Linked DNA regions of Homo sapiens: all the other regions are linked to region 3. Evidence: promoter capture Hi-C in human tissues and cell types (Jung and others, 2019). All regions are on one chromosome and are shown on one strand. The core of a region is centred on a gene start or on the middle of the fragment in contact, and the rest is flanking DNA. Distances in the headings are between cores, read along the strand shown. Region 1 holds the start of APOBEC3C (apolipoprotein B mRNA editing enzyme catalytic subunit 3C). Region 2 overlaps JOSD1 (Josephin domain containing 1). Region 3 holds the start of NPTXR (neuronal pentraxin receptor). Region 4 overlaps GTPBP1 (GTP binding protein 1). Region 5 holds the start of APOBEC3B-AS1 (APOBEC3B antisense RNA 1).

What was found. The method cuts DNA at HindIII sites, captures the fragments that hold promoters and counts their contacts. A contact is called where the count stands out against the background at its distance.
Region 1: a contact is called between the fragment with the promoter of APOBEC3C here and the fragment with the promoter of NPTXR in region 3, in 2 of the 25 tissues and cell types used here (adrenal gland and spleen).
Region 2: a fragment that was not itself captured here is called in contact with the fragment with the promoter of NPTXR in region 3 in 3 of the 25 tissues and cell types used here (aorta, dorsolateral prefrontal cortex and spleen).
Region 4: a fragment that was not itself captured here is called in contact with the fragment with the promoter of NPTXR in region 3 in 2 of the 25 tissues and cell types used here (dorsolateral prefrontal cortex and spleen).
Region 5: a contact is called between a fragment that was not itself captured here and the fragment with the promoter of NPTXR in region 3, in 3 of the 25 tissues and cell types used here (aorta, lymphoblastoid cells and spleen).

The regions. Positions count from the first base shown.
Region 1 is chr22:39,012,811-39,015,613 of GRCh38, forward strand. It overlaps APOBEC3C (apolipoprotein B mRNA editing enzyme catalytic subunit 3C), which reads left to right and starts at 1,447. Exons shown (of 4, transcript NM_014508.3): 1 at 1,447-1,569; 2 at 2,785-2,803. The coding sequence starts at 1,553. RefSeq lists enhancers at 659-1,277, 1,254-1,548, 1,278-1,895, 1,468-1,577 and a silencer at 1,688-1,737. The HindIII fragment of the contact is 14,453 bases long and covers 1-2,803 here.
Region 2 is chr22:38,687,832-38,690,650 of GRCh38, forward strand. It overlaps JOSD1 (Josephin domain containing 1), which reads right to left. Exons shown (of 5, transcript NM_001360236.2): 3 at 1,465-1,593; 4 at 1,104-1,298; 5 at 1-170. The coding sequence ends at 71. Among named protein-coding and RNA genes, the nearest start is that of TOMM22, 7.3 kb to the left of the region's middle. The HindIII fragment of the contact is 8,429 bases long and covers 1-2,819 here.
Region 3 is chr22:38,842,700-38,845,593 of GRCh38, forward strand. It overlaps NPTXR (neuronal pentraxin receptor), which reads right to left and starts at 1,329. Exons shown (of 5, transcript NM_014293.4): 1 at 536-1,329. The coding sequence starts at 1,159. RefSeq lists a silencer at 848-917. The HindIII fragment of the contact is 15,093 bases long and covers 1-2,894 here.
Region 4 is chr22:38,707,274-38,710,063 of GRCh38, forward strand. GTPBP1 (GTP binding protein 1) reads left to right here. Exons shown (of 12, transcript NM_004286.5): 2 at 1,572-1,683. Among named protein-coding and RNA genes, the nearest start is that of GTPBP1, 2.7 kb to the left of the region's middle. The HindIII fragment of the contact is 3,166 bases long and covers 1-2,790 here.
Region 5 is chr22:38,996,540-38,999,495 of GRCh38, forward strand. APOBEC3B-AS1 (APOBEC3B antisense RNA 1) reads right to left here and starts at 1,681. Exons shown (of 5, transcript NR_104187.1): 1 at 1,547-1,681; 2 at 942-1,198. RefSeq lists an enhancer at 1,546-2,186. The HindIII fragment of the contact is 5,994 bases long and covers 1-2,956 here.

The DNA of each region.
Region 1 (2,803 bases), core at 197-2,696, 170 kb after region 3:
AAGACACAAGACAAAGAGATAAAGCGAAAACAGCTGGGCCCGGGGGACCACTACCATCAAGACACGGAGATGGGTAGTGGCCCCAAATGGTTGCGTGCACTGTTATTTATTGCATACAAGACAAGGGGGGCAGGGTAAGGAGGGTGAGTCGTCCAAGTGATTGATAAGGTCGAGCAAGTCACGTGATCATAGGACAGGGGGCCCTTCCCTTATAGGTAGCCGAAGCAGAGAGGGAAGGCAGTATACGTCAGCGTTTTCTTCTATGCACCTATCAGAAAGATCAAAGACTTTAAGACTTTCACTATTTCTTCTACCGCTATCTTCTGAGAACTTCAAAGAGGGACCAGGAGTACAGGAGGAAAGTGGACAAGGAGCGTGACCATTGAAGCACAGCATCACAGGGAGGGGTTTAGGCCTCCGGATGGCTGCAGGCAGGCCTGGATACTATCCAGCCTCCCACAAGAAGCTGGTGGAGCTGAGCGTTCCCTGACTCCTCCAAGAAAAGGGAGACTCCCTTTCGTGGTCCGCTAAGTAACGATGCCTTCCTAGGCACTGGCGTTACCGCCTGACCAAGGAGCCCTCCAGTAGCCCTTATGCGGGTGTGACAGAGGGCTCACCTCTTGCATTCTCGGTCACTTCTCACAACAGCCCTTCAGCACCTGACCCTATACCCACCGGTTATTTCTTGGTTATATTAGTAATACAATAAAGAGTAATATTAAAAGCTAATGATTAATAATATCTACACTAATGATTGATAATGTCCATGATCATCTCTGTATCTAATTTGTATTATAACTATTCTTATTGTAAGTATATTCTTTATTATACTGAAACAGTTTGTGCCTTCAGTCTCTTGCCTCAGCACCTAGGTAATCCTCCGCCCACATCTCTGAGGGGCTGAACTGCCCCCCACCTTCTGGAAGCTGGGAGGTTGGAAGAGGGGATGCGTGCGATGGACTCAGCACACAGCTGGGAACTCGAGGCACACCTAAGCCTTCGCTTGTGCTGTGCGGAGTCCACACTTCCTTCCCCACTGGGGTCTCAAAACCTCCCCTCACTCAACAGGGTGGTGCTGCTCAAAGCTCTGGGCACACATTAGGGCTGGGGAGGGGGTGGTGGAGAGGGGGCTCCAGCCTGCCCAACCACCAGGCAACGGGGCACCTGCCCCTCTCTCAGCTGGGTCTGGACCCGCGTCCCAGGCTCAGGCTGCAATGCCTTTCTCTTTCTCTTTCTCTTCTTTTTGCAGTTCCGTTGGGTCCTGCCCAGGACAGATAAAGACAGAGCAGCCTGTCTTTATCGGAGGTTCCTCTGCCAGTAGGAGGGGCCCGGAGAAAACCAGAAAGAGGGCCAGAGCCAGAGAAACATGAAGCACCCCGGGGCCTCCCACACCAGTGCCTGAGCAGGAATGGGGAGGGGCCATGATTCACAAGGCCCTGGGAGGTCACTTTAAAGAGGGCTGCTCAACTGCAAGGACGCTGTAAGCAGGAAGAGAAGCCACAGCGCTTCAGAAAAGAGTGGGACAGGGACAAGCATATCTAAGAGGCTGAACATGAATCCACAGATCAGGTACCTCTGCACGCTTTGTCCGCCAGGCCCCTCCTGCCACTTCCTGCCAGGCGGTCCTGCTGGGCCTCAGCCCTGGCCTCCCCCTGCCCCAGCCCCACCTCTGGGCTCCCTCCCCCCTGGTTCCCCCGCTGCCCCCACTCCCAGCCAAGCTCCTTGCCCTGCTGTGTGGTCCCACGACTGCTGCTTCTGAATGGGCCACCTTCCCCACTTGCCCCAGCCCAGTCCGCCTGCTGAGACTCTCCCCCGAAAATCATGCCCGGGCTGGTGCTTCCCGCCCTGGGAGGGTGCTTCCTCTGTGTGCTTCCCACTATTCCTGGGAGCTCTGGAACTGGGAGAATTGAACCAAAGGATGATTTGAGCAATCAGGCATTTTGTTCTCAGCGCTTTGGTGCAATTTCTGTAAGATTTACTTTGTTTCAATACAAAGTCTTAGGAGAGGGTGTGGGGGAGGGAATGGTCTCTGTACCAGAAAATAAGTCACTTCTTCCAAAGATGCCTCCACTGTGAGCAGAGTAGGATGCACACGACCCCAGACACAGGCTCCTCCTCTGTGAGCACCGTTCACCTTTCAGAATGACACCTGCAACATGGAGTGTAGGAAAAAATATGATGATCAGGAGAAATGCTCTTATTTTAGGCCAGGCACGGTGGCTTATGCCTGTAATCCTAGCACTTTGGGAGGCTGAGGCGGGCGGGTCACTTGTGGTCAGGAGTTTGAGACCAGCCTGACTAACATGGTGAAACCTCGTCTCTACTGAAAATACAGAAAATTAGCCAGGGGTGCTGGCGGGCGTCTGTAATCCCAGCTACTTGGGAGGCTGAGGCAGGAGAATCCCTTGAACCCGAGGGGTGGAGGTTGCAGTGAGCTGAGATTGCAAACTCCAGCCTGGGGGACAGAGCGAGATGCCGTCTTTAAAAAAAAAAAAAAAAAAGTAGCAGAAAAACTGGGAGGTTGAGGGTGTTCCATTGGTAGCCCCAGAGCTGGGGTTCCAGCTAGGAGAGGTCACCCCGGCCCTGCTGCCCCTGCCAGCGTCCCCTCCTCTTTCTCTCTCCCCGTCTTCCTGCCTGGGAAAGCAGCAGACATTCTCAGGGCTGTGGAGGGATGGGGGAGGCCCAGAGCCCAGGGACGTCCAGGCAGCTGTGTTCAGTGGGCATCAGCCCTGAGGACTCCGGTGCGGGGGTCTCTGCATTGGGGTTTCTCTCTTGTGCCTTCAGAAACCCGATGAAGGCAATG
Region 2 (2,819 bases), core at 39-2,538, 150 kb before region 3:
CACTGTAGAGGCCACAGCACGTCACAGAGGACTGAAGGGGCTGAGGCGAGAGGGAGGTTGGGCAGAACTGTTACACATCGGTCCTCCAACTCTGATGAGCCTCTACCTCTTCTGGTACCACCAGCAGGAGTTCACAGTTCTTTCCTCGCAAATGATGTTTTAGAAACTTCCTATGGAAAAAGAGATAGAGAAAATGAAATGCTGGCAAGTTGCAAATTCCAGTCTCAGGACCACAAAGTCACCTGAAACCTCACTCTACCCTCGGCAGTCCAAAACACATCCCTGTAGTCATCTGGTTTTGGAGGGTTCCACATTTGGTTACCCTCCAATCTGTCCAGTTAAAATTCCAACCTGAATTTTGCTCATCCTTGTAGTTACTGCCAAGAGTAGCTGGATCTGTGAATAACAGTACCCAAAGTATATAAAGGACTTTTTCTTGGTTTGTTTGGAGACGGAGTTTCGCTCTTGTCGCCTGGGCTGGAGTGCAATGGCATGATCTCGGCTCACTGCAACCTCTGCCTCCCAGGTTCAAGTGATTCTCCTGCCTCAGCCTCCTGACCAGCTGGGATTACAGGCGTCCGCCACCACGCCTGGCTAATTTTTGTATTTTTAGTAGAGACAGAGTTTCACCGTGTTGGTCAGGCTGGTCTCGAACTCCTGACCTCAGGTGATCCACCCGCCTTGGCCTCCCAAAGTGCTGAGATTACAGGCGTGAGCAATCGCCTCTAAAGAACTTTTACAAATGTTCTTTGGTCCTGGGGAAATTCAGTGCTCCCTGGCCTGCATGTTTGTCTTCCTTTCTATGAACTGGCAACTACACTGTCTCAGTTGTCTTAAATAGAGAGAACGTTACAATGCCAGCCCCACCAGACTAGAAGGCTGGTATCCCAGGCTGGGCATCTTCCCTACCAAAAGGACTTAAAAGTACTGATGCGCCATTGAAGATTAAGGTCAGGTCCGAGACACTATGATTCTAAGGCAGGGAGAGAATCCAAGGGCACAGGAATTTCATTTCCTTTGTCAAATAACCAGAGATGAGCTCAGTGTCCCCAACCTAAGAAATGAAGCAGCCTAGCAACTTAGTCACAAAAGGTGCCGATTACCTGAGCTCGCTCTCGCCTCCAATCCACTCGGGCATCTTGAGTTTGGAGTCGAGGTTGTAGTAGGCCCCTCCCACCTCTCGAACACAGATCCAGTGCTGCCTTTTGAGGGGCAGTTTCAGTGGACCCCAGCATAGGCTGGAGGGCAGATTCATGATGAAGCCCATGACGTTAGTGAGGGCAATGACACCGACATCCCTGCAGGGGAGAAATGGTGGCAGGCTCTGATGCAGCCCATTTTCCAAGGTTCCCTGGCTGTAATACCACAACTGGCTACCTCCCCACTCATGCCATGAGCCCAAGTACTAAAAGCTTATACCACAACCGTGCTGTTCTCCATCAAGTCAAGCCTGATTCAGATTACCTGCGCTTGTCCCACCAAACAGCTTCATAGCCTTTGGTCTGAAGTGCTGCCATAATGACATTCACATCGTAGTTGCCATTTCCCAGCATGCTCTTCTTGTGAGGTGTCACCATGGTGTTTGGAGACAACCTACCAATGTGAAAAGAGGAGGGCTGAGACTTGCTGGATGCCTGAACCCCCTGACCCCGCACTACCAGGGATGGAGAGCACTTTACATCACTGCCCCTGGAAGTTAGTTTCCCCACATTCAAGTGCAATTTCCCCAGCTTCTACCTAAGTATTTTGTAAGTGTTCCATGAAGGTGACTCACTTATGAAATCCCAGCCTCCTGCAGCCTTTCTGCTCTTCCTCCTGATACTGATTTTCCTGCCTCATGCAAGCCTTTTTTTTTTTTAACATTGGAAAATAGGATTCAATCTTTTCATTTGCATGGATAGTAACTGGTGTCACTCCTGCTTTCTAGTTAAGGCCTGCAAACTTGGTAATCATTAATCATTAAATACTCAAAGGCATACAGGAGCCTAGACAGGTGACATAAATGTATAAACTGGGGTTGGATATAAGGCAATAAAAAGTAGTGAGGCCTACTGGAATGCACGACCCACCTAAAGGCATTCTGTGTGTGTGTGTGTGTGTGTGTGTGTGTGTGTGTAGTACTTGAATAAATTTTTCTTAAAATACCCAATAAATCAACTGAAAAAAAATTTGTGCCAGGCAAACAAAACTCAGCTGCAGCACTGGTTTGCCCACCCAGCTTGAAGCCATTTACTTCCAGGTTTCTTTAGCCAGTCTGTATTTTAAGACAAGGTCCATGCTGAAGGCATTTCTAATTCTATTATTTTACCTTCATAAACTTGTCAGGCCAGGAGCTGGGGAAAGGCCATTTTGAAGGAAGGGTTCAAGGGGCATACCTTTGGGCTTCGTGTGAAGGGGAGAAAGGGAAGTGTGGCGAGTTCCTCAGGACATAAAGTGCATGATCAAGAGGCTACTACATGCCATCTCCAGAAAAGAATCAAGACGTTAGGCCAAGGATGTCAACTCTAAAAAACTTAAGAAATCTTGTATTTTTAAAATTTTTCTGTGCACAGCAGAAATACTGGTATTTTTTTTCTTTCTTTTTTTTTTGAGTCGGAGTCTTGCTCTGTCGCCCAGGCTGGAGTGTGATGGCGCGATCTCAGCCCACTGCAACCTCCGTCTCCTGCGTTCAAGTGATTCTCTTGCCTTAGCCTCCCAAGTAGCTGGGATTACAGGCACCCGCCACCACGCCCACCTAATTTTTGTATTTTTAGTTGAGATGGGGTTTCACTACGTTGGCCAGGCTGGTTGGTCTCGAACTCCTAACCTTGTGATCCACC
Region 3 (2,894 bases), core at 79-2,578:
TAGGGAGGTGGTGAGGGGCACCCAGGTTTGTCTTATAGGGCACTCTGTTCCCGGCTCTGTGTAATGAGGGGAGGACCCCAAGTCCTTTGGACAGCGCATCCATCTCCTGGCCATAAAGTGTGAGCGTGGAGCTGGGCTGATTTGGGGGTGTCCGGAAGAAGGAAATGAAAGGGACATTTAATGAGGTCCTAGTACGTGCCAAGCATTTTCACACACCTACATTTGATTCAATTTCCACTACAAGTGGACACTGTTATACCTATTTTACAGACACAGAAACTGAGGCTCAGAGAGGTGCCTGGAGACGGAAAAGGGTGGGGAGCGAATCTTTCTGGCGCGCCCTCTGTGCCTCAGTCACCGTGCCAGACGCCTGCCCGCGTTCCCTATCGAAATCCCCCCGCCTCGCCAGCGAGGAAGGCGCGATCGTCCCCGGAACACAGACGGGAGACCGGAGGCTCGGGGACCGCCGGACGACCGCGGCCGGGCGGCCCCTCACACCACCCGGGCGGCTCCCCCGACGGCGCGCGGCGCTCACCTCCAGGCGGTCGATGCGGTCCCGCAGGGCGCGCACGGCGTCCTCCAGCTCCAGAATGAGCGCAGGCGAGTCCCAGGGCCCGTCGGCCATGGTGTCGCGGCGGGGCCCGGCGCCCTGGAGGCCGCGCGGCAGGCCGCTCTCGCAGCGGCCCAGCTTGCCGGTGAGCTCACGGATGGTGTCCTGGTCGGCGCGGATGCGCGCCTCCTGCTGCAGCGCCGTCTGGCGCAGCTGCTCGGCCGTGCTCTGCAGCAGCAGCAGCTCTTCGCGCTCGCCCGGCGCAGCGCCCGCCGCGTCCCCCTGCTGGGCCCCCGACGGGCAGGCAGCAGCCAGCGGCGTGCACAGGAAGCGGCTGAACAGGGGCCCGGGCGGCAGCGGGTGCGCGCTGGCCGCGGGTGCCCCGGGCAGCGCGGGGGGCCCGGCTGAACCGCCCGCGCCGTGCAGCGCGCTCAGGCTCCGCTGCGGGCCCGGGGACGCGGCGGCGCCCGAGGCGACCGAAGCATTGTCGGCGCCGCCGGGCAGCGCCCGCGCCGGGCTGGCCGCCAGGGGCACGCTGGCGATGATGCAGATGACGGCACCGAGGAACGCCAGCATGCCCGCGGCCAGCAGCACGGCCAGGAACTTCAGCGTGAGGCGGGCGGCGGGGGCGCCCGAGGCCCCCGGCAGGCGCGGCGGCGGGGTCGGGGCGCGGAGCCCGGGCGCGCTGGGCCGAGCGGGGCAGGCGCGGGAGCCGGAGCCGGAGCCGGAGCCGGAGCCGGAGCTGGAGCTGTCGCCGCGGCCGCTGCTGCCGCCGCTCTGAGCCCGGGCGGCGGGAGGAGGAGAAGACGGCAGGCGGCGGGGAGGGGGAGCGGGCGCGGCGGCCCCGCCCCACTCGCTTCCCCGGGCCGGCCCTGGCCCCGGCCCAGCCCCGCACCCGTTCAGTGCCGGGCGCCCGGCTGGGGGCGCCGCCGGGGATGCGGCGAGGAGCGAGGGCAGCGCCTGGGACCTTATCTCGCCGCGGTCACAGCGCAGGGGCCGGCGACCCGAGGGCCGCGCGGCGGGGCTCCTGGGTGACCCCCATCCCAGCCCTCCCGTGCTCGGGCCCCCTCCCCAAGCCGGTTATGTTCACATCCACCCGGGAGGGAGCTTTCTTCCGGGTGGGGCTGTGCACTGGGCGCGCCACAAGCTCGGTCGCAATTGAGCCTTGCCGTGGACAGGCTCACAATAGAAATGAGGAAACTGAGACACCTGAGGTCAGGCCTCTGTCCAAGGTCACCGGGTGGCTGCGTTGGAGCCGCCTGCGAGCTTAGGCACGTTTCACCGGACCAGACTGTGGATGGGGCTGGAGTGGGAGCGGTTAGAGGTGGAGAAGAGGCCAGTGTTGGGGGTTGGGGGGAGGCTCGGATTTTGACCTAACTTCTGTTTATACTGTGGCCACCTGCCCGTCACCCCCACCTCCAACCTTCTGAAGGAGCAGAGTTCACTCCCCGCCACCCTCATTACAGAATCTTCCTGTGATCTCAGAGGATGATGGAAATTCTCTCCTCTGAATCCTTGGGGGCTTAGAGCCTCACAGGTCCAGAGAAACCCCCCACCCCCACTGCAGTCTGCCTTCGTTGGCAAGCGGTGCCACGTGCCTGGTGGGCATGTGGACCAGGCCCAGAAGGAACAGCAGGAATGGGAGTGGGCTGTGCTGTGGGGGTGGCAGAGGAGCGTTTTACTTTCTTCTGTCAAAAATGTCTATATATATTTTGTTGAAAATTAACTTTGCAATTAAAAACTTAAAAACAATCCTACTATCCTCCACACTTTATCCCCAGCTCCAATTTTCCATGAGGTCTTTCCTGACCAATACGGATTCCCAGGGCTGGAAGGGCCTTGGGAGGGCTGTGGTTATTCCCAGCTCTGTCTCCCTTCCAAGCCTGCATTTTTGACTTGAAGGGAAAGCGCAAACCAGGATCTCTGGACCACCACGGCTACCACTGTGGTTTCGAGTGTACTTCACATAGCGCTGGTGGTGGGGAGAGACCGGAATGTTTCCCAGGAAGCCACAACCCTGGGGGACGCTCTCCAGCCACGGGGATTTTGTCCAGTGTTCCCAGGCACACGTGCTCCACCTCCCTCTCTCCACACATGTTAGGATGATGTCCACCCTGTTCACCCATCTCTAGGAGCCAGGGATTTTCATCCATACCTGAGTTGTGAAAGAGGAGAGAAGCAAACACAAGCGCTGTATGCCAGGAACCTGAGTGCTGTGTGTGCGTGGATGTGTGCTGGTGCTCACTGAAGTCGTAACCTCAAAACCCAGGGCAGGCAGCTGGGCTTGGAGGAAGCATCTCATGGACAGAGAGATGGGCTGGGCTCTTGGAAGGCAAAGGCCAGC
Region 4 (2,790 bases), core at 26-2,525, 140 kb before region 3:
ATTTTATCCAGCTTTGAAAATGTTTGTGACTTTTTATAGTTTATGGCGGCAAATTTGCATGAAACTTGGTCCTAAACTGGGGAGGAACTTTCCCTGCAACCTAAGCAAGTTATTTTCAACTGCTCTTTGCCATTGTAGTCTCAGGTGAGCACTTGGAAGCCAGCTAGCCTGTCAAAGTTGGTCCTGTCTTGTGCCTGTAAGGCCATAATGAGGATGGCCAAACTTAGAGAGAGGGATGGCCAGGACGATGTAAAAGACCCAGGAAACATCCAGGTTACAATTACAAGCTCTGATGAGTCAACTCAGGAAGTTACAAGATTATGGACCTGACTCAAGAGCAAACAAACTGGATGTCAACACATGGTCAAGGTGCTGAAGAAACATGATAGGAAATTGCAGGGCAGAGTTGCAAAGACGGTAGTACCTTCATTTCTTGACCAGCTCATTTAATATTCCTAGAAGTGTTATTTCATCACATAGCTGGGGAAGTCCTCCTTACAATTAAAAAAAATCATATGTATATTAATATCGATGATATCAAAAAGAAAAAGTGATGGTGTGGAGGGAGAGAAGGGTTGGGTTGAATAGATTGATTCCGGAGGAACAGATTAGAAGCGAAAGGTTCATGTCCTTACGATAGAAAATGTGGAGACCTAAGGCTCCGAGAGCTTCCAAAGGGAGAAACACTTAGTGAATAGTGGTGGCTAGTTTCATCCAACAAGGTTTTTCTGGGAATGATTGGGTGAAGAAAACCTTGTAGTTTCACATTTATTGAGCTGTGGACTAGATGCTTTACATGTTATTATATTTGCTCTTTACAGTGGCCTTAGGATGCAGGTAGTATTAGCTCCGTTTTATAGATTGAAAAACTGAAACTCAGAGTGGTTAAATTCTTTGTCCAAGGTCACACAGGAGTGGTTAGAGAATGGGGTCTGATTGCCAAATGGCTTACCCAAGTAAATGGTTGACACTTCAATGTTATTGGCAGACATTTGCAAAATGACGGTGCTAATACTCCTCGTAGTGGTAATGGTGATGGTGCTTTGTTGATGAAGATGAGTCTTGCAGGCAGTTTTCATTCCCAAATATTCAATATAGCTAAGACAAGATAGAACAGAATTCTTTTGTTATCCTGGAAGCCACTGGCCTGTGGGTGGAGGGCATGGAGGTATATGAGGTATATGTCTTGTGGGCTTCCAGATGCCAACTGCAGGTAGAAGACTTTGGCATGTAGATGGAAAGCACTGCGCTTTCTATCCACAGTGCCATATTCTCAGTCACTTGGGTCCTGCCCTTCCTGTTAAGCAGCAGGAGGCAGGCTGCTTGTGCCCTCTTTACCATGGGTTATGGCTCAGACATACACATTGTAGTATATTATTTGGCTCATATAAGGCCTGAGGCTCAAAGGCTACTTCAGGAGAAGCAGAGAGGGCATGAAGGGGCTGTGCAGCCTTTTTAGATGAGGGTGCTATGGGGTTCAGTCAGGATCTTTGGTTAGGCTATATTGATCAGCTTTGGCTGTGGTGCTCTTCTAGCAAGTGTGGTCCTAAGGCTGTTGGTTTCTTTTCTAGCTGGTTCTAGTGAGCCCTACATCAGAGCAGTATGACAGCCTACTTCGGCAGATGTGGGAGAGGATGGACGAGGGATGCGGAGAGACCATATATGTCATTGGGCAGGGATCAGGTGAGCATAGTTTTCCTTTCACTTTATTTTTAAAAATTATTGGGCCGGGTGCGGTGGCCCTGCCGCCTGTAATCCCAGCACTTTGGGAGGCCAAGACGGGTGGATCACCTGAGGTCAGGAGTTCGAGACCAGCCTGGCCAACATGGTGAAACCCCATCTCTACTAAAAATACAAAAAATTAGCCGGGCGCTAATTAGTGGTGGCAGGCGCCTGTAATCCCAGCTACTTGGGAGGCTGAGGCAGAAGAATTGCTTGAACCTGGGAGGCGGAGGTTGCAGTGAGCCAAGATCGTGCCATTGTGCTCCAGCCTAGGCGACAAGAGTGAAACTCTGTCTCAAAAAAAAAAAGAAATTATTTAGAGCACATTTTCCCCGCTTTTTGAACTTTTCTGCTTATGTGTCTCAGTTACAGTGATTCTTTAGTGTCTGCAGAACTGTTTGGAGTACATAAAAGTACAAAGTGAATGTTAATTCTGACCTTAGTGGCCATAATATGCTTGACTTTCCAAGCAGTTTTACAGATGCTTCCTTTTTACCTCCAGTACTCTCTATTTGCATAAGAGGAAATGAAGCACAAAGCAAAGGAACTTCTTGTCTAAGGTAATAGGGCAAGCCATAGTTAGGTCTAGAATTAAGCTTATTCCTGGGCAGCTGGAGGTCTTCCCTTCCAGGCCCTGTTTACAGATCCCATTGCGACTTATTTTCTGCTTAGCAGAGGACCTCCGTGATTCTTCTTGGTGTCAGCAGAGAAAAGATGCCCAGAATTCCTCTCTTGTCAGGCTCCTTGCCCCAGACCCTACTGACTATTTAGTCTGGATAGCTGGGATAACAGAGGTCGTCCTCTCTCCCCACTGGATCCTGTCAGACACATAGGCTTGTAACCATTCTGAAAGGGACTGGTTATTGTTCTCCAAGCTGCTTATTCCTTGTAACAGAACCTACTATTTTAGAGGAAGGCAGCCCTCACAACAATCCCAGAGTATATTATGGTTTCTTCCCCTGGTCACTCCTAGTTAGCAACTTCAATACAAGACCTGCTTACCTTCATCTTCATTATGGGATTATCTTTGCTGAAATGACAGCTGGGGTTGTTAACGATTATGAATTC
Region 5 (2,956 bases), core at 274-2,773, 150 kb after region 3:
AGACCACCAGCAAAGAAAGCAAAAAGCTTTCCAGGCTCATCCCAGGTGGTCGGGGCCTCAGAGATGAACAAGTGCCTGCCAGGGCTGCAGGGCACCCGTCTGTGTCTTCCTTTCATCTCCCCTCTGACCTCTGGATGCCAGATGTCTCCAAAGGACTTCAACTTTTTTTTGTTTGTTTGTTTTTGTTTTTTGAGAGAGTCTCACTCTGTCACCCCCGCTGGAGTGCAATGGCACCATCTCAGCTCACTGCAACCTCTGCCTCCCGAGTTCGAGCGATTCTCCTGCCTCAGCCTCCTGAGTAGCTGGGATTACAGGTACGAACCACCATGCCCGGCTAATTTTTGTATTTTAGTAGATGGGGTTTCACCGTGTTGGCCAGGCAGGTCTCGAACTCCTGGCCTCAGGTGATCTGCCCGCCTCAGCCTCCCAAAGTGCTGGGATTACAAGTGTGAGCCACCGCGCCTGACCTGGACTTCAACTTTAACTATGAAAACCTACAGCTGGCCAAAGGGCGAGGGGAGACTTGCCTATCCTACCATGTAGAGTGATCAGATGGTGACACCCTGTCCTGCTGGACACCAGTGTCCTTCACAACCAGGTGTTAGCTGGGGATGGACACAGGAATCCCAGATTGGTAGGGAAAGGGGAGCCCCCCACAAGACCAGCTTTCTTCCTCCCATCAGGCTCAGACCAAACACATTGCACAACGCAGTTGCATGGAAGCCACAAAGATGGAAACCCAGGGCCTGGGGCCCTCTGGGAGGGACCTACACACGATCATAGCCCCCCCGACAATGCCTCGTGTGCCCAACACCAGCCCACCAGGTAGCTAGAGCCATTCCCTCTGGTCACTGGAGCAGAGCAGCCACCACAGCCTCCTGCAACACACCCTCCCATGCTGCGCCCACCCGCCTGGGCTCTCCCACCTCCCTTTGACCTACCTTGTTCCTGGGCACAGCCCCCTGTCCTGGCTGCAGATCTCAGGGTAACAGACCTCCACACAGCTGCTGATGCAGAAGTCCAGGCTGCAGTGCCCACAAGTGGATAGAGGAGGGGGTACGTGGGATGGAGGGGCTCACTATGGGTCCTCGTTGATTTCCCTACACTGTGATCTCCTGGAGGGAGGACCATGTGCCATCCATCCTTGCATCCCAGGTTCCTGCCTGAGCCGTGGCCCTGAGTGGGTGCTCTTGGGTTACTGTTGAAGGAATGAAGGAACTAGTATATGAATGAACCAGTTGTCCTTCCTTGCCTCCCCCCTTCCCTCCCTCCCTCCCTCCCTTCCTTCCCTCCCTTCATTGACCCTTCCTTCCCTCCCTCTCTCCCTCCCTCCTTCCCTTCCTTCCTTTCTTCCTTCCTTCCCTCCCTCCCTTCATTGACCCTTCCTTCCTTCCCTCCCTCCCTTCATTGACTCTTCCTTCCTTCCCTCCCTCTCTCCCTCCCACCTTCCCTCCCTCCCTCCCTCCTTCCTTCCTTCCCTCCCTATCTCCCTCCCTCCCTCCCTTCCTTCCTTCACCCTTCCCTCCTTCCCTCCCTATCAGGGGACCTGGTCCGATAATCATGTAGGTTCTTTTCTATTTTCTTAAGTGTCGGCTGGCTTGAGAAATAAAGGGACAGAGTACAAAAGAGAGAAATTTTAAAGCTGGGCTTCCGGGGGAGACATCACATGTTGGTAGGATCCGTGATGCCTCACAAGCCGCAAAAACCAGCAAGTTTTTATTAGGGATTTTCAAAAGGGGAGGGAGTGTGTGAATAGGTGTGGGTCACAGACATCAAGTACTTAACAGGGTAATAGAATATCACAAGGCAAGTGGAGGCAGGGCGAGATCACAGGACCTCAGGACTGAGGCAAAATTAAAATTGCTAATGAAGTTTCGGGCACCATTGTCATTGATAACATCTTATCAGGAGACAGGGTTTTAAGAGCAACCCGTCTGACCAAAATTTAGTAGGCGGGAATTTCCTCTTCCTAATAAGCCTGGGAGCGCTATGGGAGACTGGAGTCTATCTCACCTCTGTAATCTCGACCATAAGAGACAGGTACGCCCTGGGGGGGCCAGTTCAGAGACCTACCCCTAGGTGCGCATTCTCTTTCTCAGGGATGTTCCTTGCTGAGAAAAAGAATTCAGCGATATTTCTCCCATTTGCTTTTGAAAGAAGAGAAATATGGCTCTGTTCTGCCCGGCTCACCGGTGGTCAGAGTTTAAGGTTATCTCTCTTATTCCCTGAACAATTGCTGTTATCCTGTTCTTTTTTCAGGGTGCCCACATTTCATATTGCTCAAACACACATGCTGTACAATTTGTGCAGTTAATGCAATTATTACAGGGTCCTGAGGCGAAATACATCCTCCTCGGCTGACAGGATTAAGAGATTAAAGTAAAGACAGGCATAGGAAATCACAAGGGTATTGATTGGGGAAGTGATAAGTGTCCATGAAATCTTTACAATTTATGTTTAGAGATTGCAGTAAAGACAGGCATAAGAAATTACAAAAGTATTAATTTGGGGAACTAATAAATGTCCATAAAATCTTCACAATCCACGTTCTTCTGTCATGGCTTCAGCTGGTCCCTCCATTTGGGGTCCCTGACTTCCCACAACACCTCCCTCCCTTCCTTGACCCTTCCTTCCCTCCTTCCCTCCCTCCCTCCCTTCCTTTCTTCCTCCCTTCTTCCCTCCCTCCCTGCCTCCTTCCCTCCCTCCCTCCCTCCCTCCCTCCCTCCCTCTCAGGAGAGAGCAGCACACTGGAATGGCTGAGCTTGAGGACCCCCCATCTGGCTTGCACAGTCACCCAAACCACCACCCCTCCCCTTCCCTCCTCTTCTGCCTTGAGGAATCTGACTGTCTGGAAACTTGTTTCTCCTTCTCCATGAACATTCTAAAGCCACTGGCCATGCACTGGTGCTACCAGGTCACCTGGAGCATCTCCTGGAGCCCTTGTCCTTAATGTGCC